3 separate regions of the Homo sapiens genome follow, and regions 2 and 3 are each linked to region 1. Evidence: promoter capture Hi-C in human tissues and cell types (Jung and others, 2019). All regions are on one chromosome and are shown on one strand. Each heading gives the region's core, a stretch centred on a gene start or on the middle of the fragment in contact. The rest is flanking DNA. Distances are from core to core; before and after follow the strand shown. Region 1 holds the start of HOMER1 (homer scaffold protein 1). Region 2 overlaps THBS4 (thrombospondin 4). Region 3 overlaps THBS4 (thrombospondin 4).

The links. The method cuts DNA at HindIII sites, captures the fragments that hold promoters and counts their contacts. A contact is called where the count stands out against the background at its distance.
Region 2: a contact is called between a fragment that was not itself captured here and the fragment with the promoter of HOMER1 in region 1, in 1 of the 25 tissues and cell types used here (dorsolateral prefrontal cortex).
Region 3: a fragment that was not itself captured here is called in contact with the fragment with the promoter of HOMER1 in region 1 in 1 of the 25 tissues and cell types used here (IMR-90 fibroblasts).

What each region holds. Positions count from the first base shown.
Region 1 is chr5:79,512,493-79,515,535 of GRCh38, reverse strand. HOMER1 (homer scaffold protein 1) reads left to right here and starts at 1,402. Exons shown (of 9, transcript NM_004272.5): 1 at 1,402-2,766. The coding sequence starts at 2,762. RefSeq lists enhancers at 680-869, 578-1,125 and a silencer at 1,120-1,829. The HindIII fragment of the contact is 12,079 bases long and covers 1-3,043 here.
Region 2 is chr5:80,041,615-80,044,723 of GRCh38, reverse strand. All of the region lies in intron 2 of THBS4 (thrombospondin 4), which reads right to left. Among named protein-coding and RNA genes, the nearest start is that of THBS4, 7.8 kb to the right of the region's middle. The HindIII fragment of the contact is 6,867 bases long and covers 1-3,109 here.
Region 3 is chr5:80,060,714-80,063,995 of GRCh38, reverse strand. THBS4 (thrombospondin 4) reads right to left here. Exons shown (of 22, transcript NM_003248.6): 8 at 2,164-2,301. Among named protein-coding and RNA genes, the nearest start is that of THBS4-AS1, 21 kb to the left of the region's middle. The HindIII fragment of the contact is 6,774 bases long and covers 1-3,282 here.

The DNA of each region.
Region 1 (3,043 bases), core at 153-2,652:
TAATTTACAATGTAAAAAGCACTCATAATATGGTGTTTATAGACACACATAGCTAGTAAACCTATAGACAGCTACTCACCCTTGCCATACAGAAAATGCAAAACACACTTAAGAGATATTGTAATTACATATTATGTGGTCAAAACTAAAGAAGACGAAAATATGCTTGTGTTAATGAAAAAGGATTTGGTGCTCTTTCTTATTTTTAATTTTTAAATTTTAATTTAAATTCCACAGACTGAAACCCATATACTTTTTCTCTTTCTTGTTTTACTGGCTGGAGCCAAGTGTCATGGAACTCATATTCTTGATGAAGAGAAACTGAGAGGACACACTGGCATTTGCTATACGTGAACTAAGATTGACTCATTTTCCTATGTCAAAACTGCTATTTTGCAAATAAAATTACTATCCTTTATAACATTATTTCGTTTGCTTATTGCTCTGCTCTTTATTCTTTCGTGTTTCAGGTAACCACTAACAAAAAGTTTAAAAGTCGACTATGTCCAGAATGGCACTCTATAATTGAAAATTTAGGTGATTTTTCCGAAGTCCTGTTGGAAGCACATCTACCAGCAGTGTGATCAGGCTCTCCCTCCCACATTTCCCTGCTAGTCAGGACAAGAGAAGCCCGGGGGTGCTGCTGCAATAGCGGTGGGAGTGGGAGATAGGCTATTACCCGCTTGACACTGCACTTTTGCTACGAATGATTCACTCAGGTTTGGCACATTTGTTGCAAGGAAATCTCCTCCTCCCGCCGCTTCCTTGTTCGAGCTCCTCTCGGGCTGTCTCCTGTGCTTTGGCCTTTAAGGAGAAGTGAGAGCAGGTGGGCACACAGGAGCTCGCCGAGTCCTCCTCCCCCTGCTCCTTCCCTAATTTAGCAGTACTTCCGGCCGCGTGACATCATCCCCCGCACCTCGGTGACGTGAGCTGCGGGTGACGTGTGTGCGGAGAGAAGCGCGCTGACGTTGCTATTTAAAGGTCCTCCTGCGGGGAGGATGGAGACACAGCGCGAGCACCTGGTGTGGGGCGCGGAGGAGGCTGTGGCGGTCGGGAGCGGGGCCAAGAGCCAGAGGAGGAGCAGAGCGCACGGCCAGCCAGCCGCCAGCCTCTAGGGGAGGGGGGAAAAGAAGGACGAACGGACTGAGGGCCTGCCGCCGGCCCAGCTCCCCACGAGGGCCGCTCGGCCCCCCACCATCAGCCTCTCCGCCGCCTTGCGGCTGCTGCTTTCTCCCGCGGCCCGCTGCTCGCAAGGCCCGTCGGGCTCCCGGGACCAGTCCGCGCCCCAGCCCCCGGCCGCGGCTCCGCGGCGGCCACCGCCTCCCGTCCCTTCCCGCGAGCAGAGGGAGGGACCGCCCTCGCTCCCCGTTCTCTCCGCCCCCTTCCCGCCCCCCGCAGCCCACTCTGCCGCCGCGCTAGCTTCACGCCGGCGGCGCTGACCGGGAAAGCAGCACCCTCTTCTCTGCCAGCCGGCCGGCCGGCGGAGGCGGAGGCAGCGGCAGGCTTCAGGCCGCCGGGGCTGGCGCTGCTCTGCCCGGCGGTAGCCGGAGGCGGGCGCTGATGGAAGTGTGAAGAGGCGGCGGCGGGGCCCGGGGAATGTGAGGCGGCGCGTGGCGGCGGCGCGGAGCGTGAGAGACGAGGAGTAGGGGTGGGGGCGCTGGAGCGGCGGCTGCGCTTCGGCTTCGAGCCCAGCTCTCCTGGCCCCAACGCGGGCTTAGCCTCCCGCCTTGGCTCGGGCAGGCGCCCGTCGACCCTTCGGCCCCTTTCGCCCGCCCTGGAGCTGGGGGCAGGGTGCCAGTGGAAGCGTGGGGCTTGGCTCTGTGATTCATTCATTCTCCGCCGACGGGAGCCTCAGACCCGCTGTGCTCTGAAGAGAGGAGGGAAGAGGGGGCAGCCGCGAATGAAGGGCCGGGCACCAGCCGGGCTCCATTGTGCTCGGCGGCGGGGGGCGGGAAGGGGCTGAGGGAGGTGGGATCGGGTCCCCTCCTCCAGCTCTCCGGCGTGCGCTGCGCCCCCAGCCTGCTGCCAGCCTGGAAATGGCTCCGTTTATTCTCTTCGGGAGAATGAATCGATCCTGCCTAGCCTTCTCTTCGTCCTCCCCACCTCTTCTCTGCTCCGAGTCTTAGGAGGAGAAACATTTAAAAAGACAGATTCCAATGTGGAGTGCCGTGCAGGTTGCGAGCTGCCGGGTTTGCACTTCGAGGAGATTTTCCTGTGTAGTTTTTTTCCTAATGTGAGCGCAGGGAAGCCGTGGCATTACTGCTTTTGGGATTTTTATTCACGTGCACGTCGCGTTTGGTTGCTCGCTCCACCCCCGGAGACCTGGTGTGGTGGAGAAATTTGAACCCGCAGCCTTAGCTCCGAAAAGGCCGAGTTACCTGGCTCTCCCTGAGTGTCGAGGAGGACATGAGTGAAATGACCAGCGAACTCATTTTTTATAGGACTCGGTGAAGCCGGATTCTGCATTTCCCTACTTGTAGACTCATTTTGTGGAATAGAGTTGATCGCTGTCTCCTCCGCAAAGCATTTTAACTCGAATAAGCAAATGCCGCCTCTGTTTGAACGTTTTGGTATTTACAAGAGAGAAATCATTTTACCTAAGAGAACTAATTGAATTGGCAGCATCCTTGAAATACCTCCGGACAAGGATCTGGGGGTGGGGGTGGAAAAGCAACTGCGAAATAGCAGACGGAGAAATTCCTTTGGAAGTTATTCCGTAGCATAAGAGCTGAAACTTCAGAGCAAGTTTTCATTGGGCAAAATGGGGTAAGGATTTTTGTGCTTAACACAGCTTCGAATCTGTTTATGTATGTGTATTATTGAGCGGTGGTGGTGATTGTGTTTTGTGTTTTCAAACAAACTTGCCACCTTGCTAAGCTGGTCATACTTTAAAGAAATAGGCATGCTAACCTTTTAGGTTATTTTTGCATTTTTGTAGAGCGGTACCAGAGGTCATAATTTAAAAACACATATATCGTTTGTAACTTGAATATGGATTTGTGAGTAATGTTTACAAAGACAACGCATTCTACACTTTACTGGT
Region 2 (3,109 bases), core at 282-2,781, 530 kb before region 1:
GCTGAGTGTGGTGGCTCAGACCTGTAAGCCCAGCAATTTAGGAGGCCGAGACAGGAGGATCACTTGAGGCCAGGAGTTCGAGACCAGCCTGGCCAATATGGCAAAACCCCATCTCTACTAAAAAAATAGAAAAATTAGCTGGGCGTAGTGGTGCGCACATGTAGTTCCAGCTACTCGGGAGGCTGAGGCAGGAGAGTCAGTCGAACCTAGGAGGCAGAGGCTGCAGTGAGCCGATATCTAGCGACTGCACTCCAGCCTGGGTGACAGAGTAAGACTCTGTCTCATAAATAAATAAATAATTTTTTTTTTATTACCTACTATGTGTCAGATATTGTGGAATCCCAGAATTTCACAATGGTGTATGTCATTTTTCACAAACAAGTCTACTCTTCTCAGCCTCCATTTATTCTTTTCAATCTATCCATGAACTACTTCTATGTACAAGGCACCTTGCTAGGTGCTGCAGCAGATGCAAAGATAAGGGCTGTATAGTCCCTGTCTCAAGAGAGCTCCCAACCAAATGGAGAGAAGACCTAGAAGTAATTCAAGTACAAGGTGAGCTAAGATGAATGTCTTCCTTAAGAGGTACAAAGTCATATTAGAAAGAATATCAGAAGGAGCTGGAGATGGGTCTTGAATGTGTAGGATTTGGGTGTCAAGAGGTGATGCAGGATATGTGTCGAGGGAGCAGACAGCAGGAACAAAAGGATGGAGGAGAGGCAGCATGTGCGGCCCCAAGGAATGGCAATAGCCTATCTTGGTGAAGCTCAGGCTGCATGGAGGCTGGAATGAGGGATAAACTGGAAAGGCTGCTTGGGGCCATGCAGAGTGGAAGCCCCGAATGCCTTGCTGAGACATGGGTACATTATTCAATTTGGAAAGGGGGCCACTAGAGGTCTCAGAGGTCAGATGTATCTTGATCCAAATTATGTTTGTGAACAGTAATGAGGTGGCCTGGGGTAGGCTGACTTGGAGAGGGTGAGAGTAGAAGCAGAGAGCTCAGTGGCAAACTCTTTCTTTGCAGTCTTCATTAGCTACATTTTAATTTGTTTCAGGAGGTCATATGAGGCCCAGATGACCAAATTCTGCTCTTTGATGCTGTGTAGTCACCCTCCTTCATCTCCCAGTCCTGGACTTTAATGGAGGGAAGGGTGTGTTTTATTTCCTACTCAGGTGTTTTAAGTCAGTAGAGATCCACTTGGATTTCTTCTGTTTCACCGTTTTCCACGCAAATCAGCAAAAGAGGAGATCAGCTGAACCTTGGCCAGATGAATGCTGTCTGGAGCCTACCATGTCCAGGTAGATAATTTGTGGAGGGTTGTGGGGAGAATTATGTCAAGTCAGCATGGCCACCACTGAACACTGCAGTGGGGAGTCTCAACCACAGGCTCTGTCTTTTCCTTGGATCTGATGGACCCAGTGACTTCTTTTTATTGTTCCAGTCAGAATGGACTTCTCTTTCCTGAAACTTTTATATTCACCAGTGCTGGCAAATCTTCGTATTTTTTCCGACTGCTCCAGTGAAACAACTTCTCTGTGTCATTCTTCAACTCTTCAAGCTCTAATAACAGCATAAATCCCTCTTTGCCTTATGAGAATTCTCATTTCTAGATTCTTCCAGGACTCCTTCTGCCCCCACAGTTTCTAAGAACAATTTATCTTTCCTAATAGGTTGGAGGGTAGGGAGATGTTCATCTTTCAGTTCTTCATCTCAACCCTTTCATCTTTTCCTCTAATTTTTTTTTTCTTTTGAGACAGAGTCTCGCTCTGTCACCCAGGCTGAAGTGTGGAGTGCAGCGGCACAATCTCAGCTCACTGCAACCTCTGCCTCCTGGGTTCAAGTGATTCTCCTGCCTCAGCCTCCCGAGTAGCTGTGACTATAGGCACATACTGCCATGCCTGGCTAATTTTTGTATTTTTAGTAGAGATGGGGTTTCTCCATGTTGGCCATGCTGTTCTCGAACTCCTGACCTCAGGTGATCTGCCTGCCTCAGCCTCCCAAAGTGCTGGGATTACAGCCCCTAAAATATTTGATCAACTGGTATTTACAGCTGACTCATATTACTGGTGATTCTTCAGAGGAAACATACTAACGATCCCCTTACCCTCTACCTACTGCCCATTAAATCCAGTGTTACTCTTGTCTATACAAACTGAAAGGATCCGTTCAGGGGAAGTTGCTTCCTTGTGTTTCCCAGCAACAGACTTTCCACAATGGGCTCACACATACTGGCCAATTTAGAAATAGAGGGTGAGAGGCAGTGAGGGCAAAAGCTTGGAGCAGTTTTTTACTCTGCAGAGGAACTTCTGGCCATTAAGCTGGATGAACCGAAAGAAAAATCTTTGCAATGCCTCTGAAATAGACAGGTTAGGAGAAGCTGCTGATCCACAGATGAAGAACGGTGATTTTTACGATCACAAACTGAGTAGCTGGGTTGTCAGAAGATGAGCAGTTCCTTCAGCAGATGCTAGGCAAAATGGGGCTGTTTGATTCAAGGCAGAGACATGGGCAGAATCCCCCCTCATTAGGGCTGAAGATGGGGAAAGGGGGACAGGAACGGTTGACCCATCTGCTGGCCATGTCCTCAGACTCACTTTATTATCTGACACCTCCTCAAGGCCCCTGACAGGCTATGAGGCACATACAGAGAAAGCAGACTTGGGAGTAGCGTGGAAGCAGGCAAGAAGCATGTTGGAATCTGACAGAAAAGAAGGGGTTAAAGTCCCATTCATTTATACTTTTAACTTTAGAGTCCTATGAAAGTTAAGAATTAGAAACTTCTTTCATTTCCTAATGCCTGCAGATTTAAGTGTACAATCACAAATATAATCTAAGAGAGAGTTTGAAGCACTAGGAAGTGTCCACTTTGTAAAGCAAACTGAAATAAACATAAAACCCAGCCAGAAGAACCAGCCCTCCTATTTTATTAAATGCATGAAGCAGCAGGAACACGCATCTGTCACATTCCTTAATAAACAGGAACAGGTGTTGTCCCCCGGGGAAGGAGTGGAGGAGAAGGCAATGAAAAATAGTGACCATTTTCTTTGGGACTCACTTCTCAGTGCTTATAGTAACTCACTACGGCAACAAAACAAATGACAGCAGAGG
Region 3 (3,282 bases), core at 115-2,614, 550 kb before region 1:
GGTGGTAAAAGCCAGGTCCCTGTTACTAAGACCTGGACCCAACTCCCACCTCCCAGGATCTGCTGTGGCATCAGCTCTAGTCACAGTTCTGGCTTTGAGTTTTCTCTTTGTTTCTGGACACTGCGCCATTTCCTTTTATTTTCTTTGACTTTGGAATGCAGTAACATTTGCTGTTAAATTTAGCAAGGTGGCTCCCTTCCACTTCAGTTCTGTCTGCCTTGTTACTGGAAATCTATTGAGAAGTGCTCCTTACTACCTTACACCAAGTACCTTATGTTTCCTTGGTTTGTTCTTAGAGATTTTGTCTTTAGAGGACTCTTAACAGCTTCTTATCATTCCTATATGTCTAGCTGGCCTCCCTTTTCTAGTCTAAAAAATCATGCCCTCCAAGGACTTCATGATTAAAACACCTAAAGCAATGGCAACAAAAGCCAAAATTGACAAATGGGATCTAATTAAACTCAAGAGCTTCTGCACAGCAAAAGAAACTACCATCAGAGTGAACAGGCAACCTACAGAATGGGAGAACATTTTTACAATCTATCCATCTGACAAAGGGCTAATATCCAGAATCTACAAAGAACTTAACTTAAACAAATTTATAGGAAAAAAATCAAACAACCCCATCAAAAAGTGGGCAAAGGATATGAACAGACACTTCTCAAGACAGTTATGCAGCCAACAGACACATGAAAAAATGCTCACCATTACTGGCCATCAGAGAAATGCAAATCAAAACCACAATGAGATGCCTTCTCACACCAGTTAGAATGGCGATCATTAAAAAGTCAGGAAACAATAGGTGCTGAAGAGAATGTGGAGAAATAGGAACACTTTTACACTGTTGGTGGGACTGTAAACTAGTTCAGCCATTGTGGAAGACAGTGTGGCGATTCCTCAAGGATCTAGAACTAGAAATACGATTTGACCCAGCCATCCCATTACTGGGCATATACCCAAAGGCTTATAAATCATGCTGCTATAAAGACACATGGACACGTATATTTATTGTGGCACTATTCACAATAGCAAAGACTTGGAACCAACCCAAATGTCCATCAATGATAGACTGGATTAAGAAAATGTGGCACATATACACCATGGAATATTATGCAGCCATAAAAAAGGATGAGTTCATGTCCTTTGTAGGGACATGGATGAAGCTAGAAACCATCATTCTGAGCAAACTATCGCAAGGATAGAAAACCAAACACCGCATGTTCTCACTCTTAGTTGGGAATTGAACAATGAGAACACTTGGACACAGGGTGGGGAATGTCACACACCAGGGCCTGTCATGGGGTAGGGGGAGGGGGGAAGGATAGCATTAGGAGATATACCTAATGTAAATGACAAGTTAACAGGTGCAGCACACCAGTATGGCACATGTATACATATGTAACAAACCTGCACGTTGTGCATATGTACCCTAGAACTTAAAGTATAACAATAACTTAAAAAAATCATGCCCTCTAGAACCCTTTGATAGGCAGCTAGGAAATAATAAACCCCTGCCCTTCTTCAAAGCTAATAATTTCCCTAAGGTAGTAAAATATATTTATAGAACAACCATTTTTAAGGGCTAAAAACATCAAAAAGAATTTCACAGTCAGTCAGTTAAATAATGACCAGAATATAGTAGAGCATTGGGAAATAAATGGAGACTGTCAAGAAGTACTCAAGTGCTTTATGGCAATTTATAGCTTACATAAGAAAAAGGGGAGGTTGCCTTGGGGGATTATTTCTACTCTTAAAATCCCCTCATCTCTGAAACAGCTTCGATTGGCAACAATGACTCTACAAAAGTGACCTAATTTTTCAAAGCTTTTGTCTCCGTGGTTCTCAACTTATTCTGCAGGACAAAATGCTCAACAGCTATCAACAAAATAAGACTGAAATTATGCCAATAGCCATATTACCCCATTTACTGTTTTTCTAGTGATACTCTATTATCCCCTCTTAAAAGCTTCCTCCCTTCTAGATTTTATAAATGTAAATACTCAGAAATGGTTGAAAAACTTCCTAATTTGCTCATTTTGCACCATGACATTCCACATGGCCTTGACTGCTCATGGAGGTAAAGGTTTATACCAAAGAGGTGGGAACCAACCACAGTTGTTTTGTTAAGATGAGAAATGAATAGAAACCATGACTTCAGCCTACCTGCTTGTTTGACTTGGCAAAACTGATCCCAACACCCTGCACCATGGGCCCTGTGAAGCCCACTGGGCAGGCGTCACATCTGAAGCCAGGAGACAAATTTATGCAGTGCACGCCCGGGTAGCAGGGATGGTATTTGCACTGGAGACAAAAAAGTTCAAAGTCTTTAGCCACACCGAGAAAACACTCTCAAACTTTTCTTCATCTATTTGCACATACTTGTTTAGTCATTTAACTATCTTTTGGTGGAAAAAATAATAAAAGGAAATAAAGGCTTCCAACTCCAGTTACCCACTGAATCCCTGACCACACAATCTGAGGTTGCTTTTTAGTAGGCTTTGCTGTGCTGTAGAATAATGGCACATGCATGTTGAAAGGGTCCTTGATATTAACCAGCCTACCTCTCAATGTAATAAGCTCCCTGATATTCTGACATGGAATTTGCAAATCTCTGTGAAAGGACTATGTCCCTGGACCACTTAGCTGGCTGTTAGATGCCTCCAAAAGCATCAGCAAACCAACTACTCAATCAGAAAGACCTCGAGAAGGCAAAGCCAGGGCCGGTGCCTCTTCATTACCATGTAATCCCTCAGGGCCTGTGCCTGCCTCCATGTCCTGTCAAGTCCATGCTATTCCAAGGCTCTAGGAATCTTGGAGATTGTTTTTTGTTTTTTTTAAACCACTTCAACTAATGTAAAAAACATGACCACTTCCTGCCCTTTCAGAAAGAGGAAAATTCTACCTCACAGATAAAAACCAGATGCAGTTCAGTGAAATGTATGCAGTTGTTTCTCCAATTGAGGGATTACTAGAGACCGTCTTAATTGCTTACTACTAGCGAAGGTAATCAGCTGAGTGTTACTAACATTACCATGGGCCTGCAGGAGCCCCAGGGAGTCAGTGTGCCTAAGTTATGTACCTGCATCTCTCCCCTGCGCTTCTCCTTTCAGCCTTCCTTGGGCTGGGTGGGAGGAGAAAGGCACATTGAAGGCACATTTTGGTGGCAGCCTTGCTACCTGCTATGAACATTGCTTTGCAACTGGACTGGTGATTGCCTAACCATGTTTTTTTTTGTTTGTTTTTTTGAGACAGGGTTGTGCCCAGGCTAGAGTGCAGTGGTGC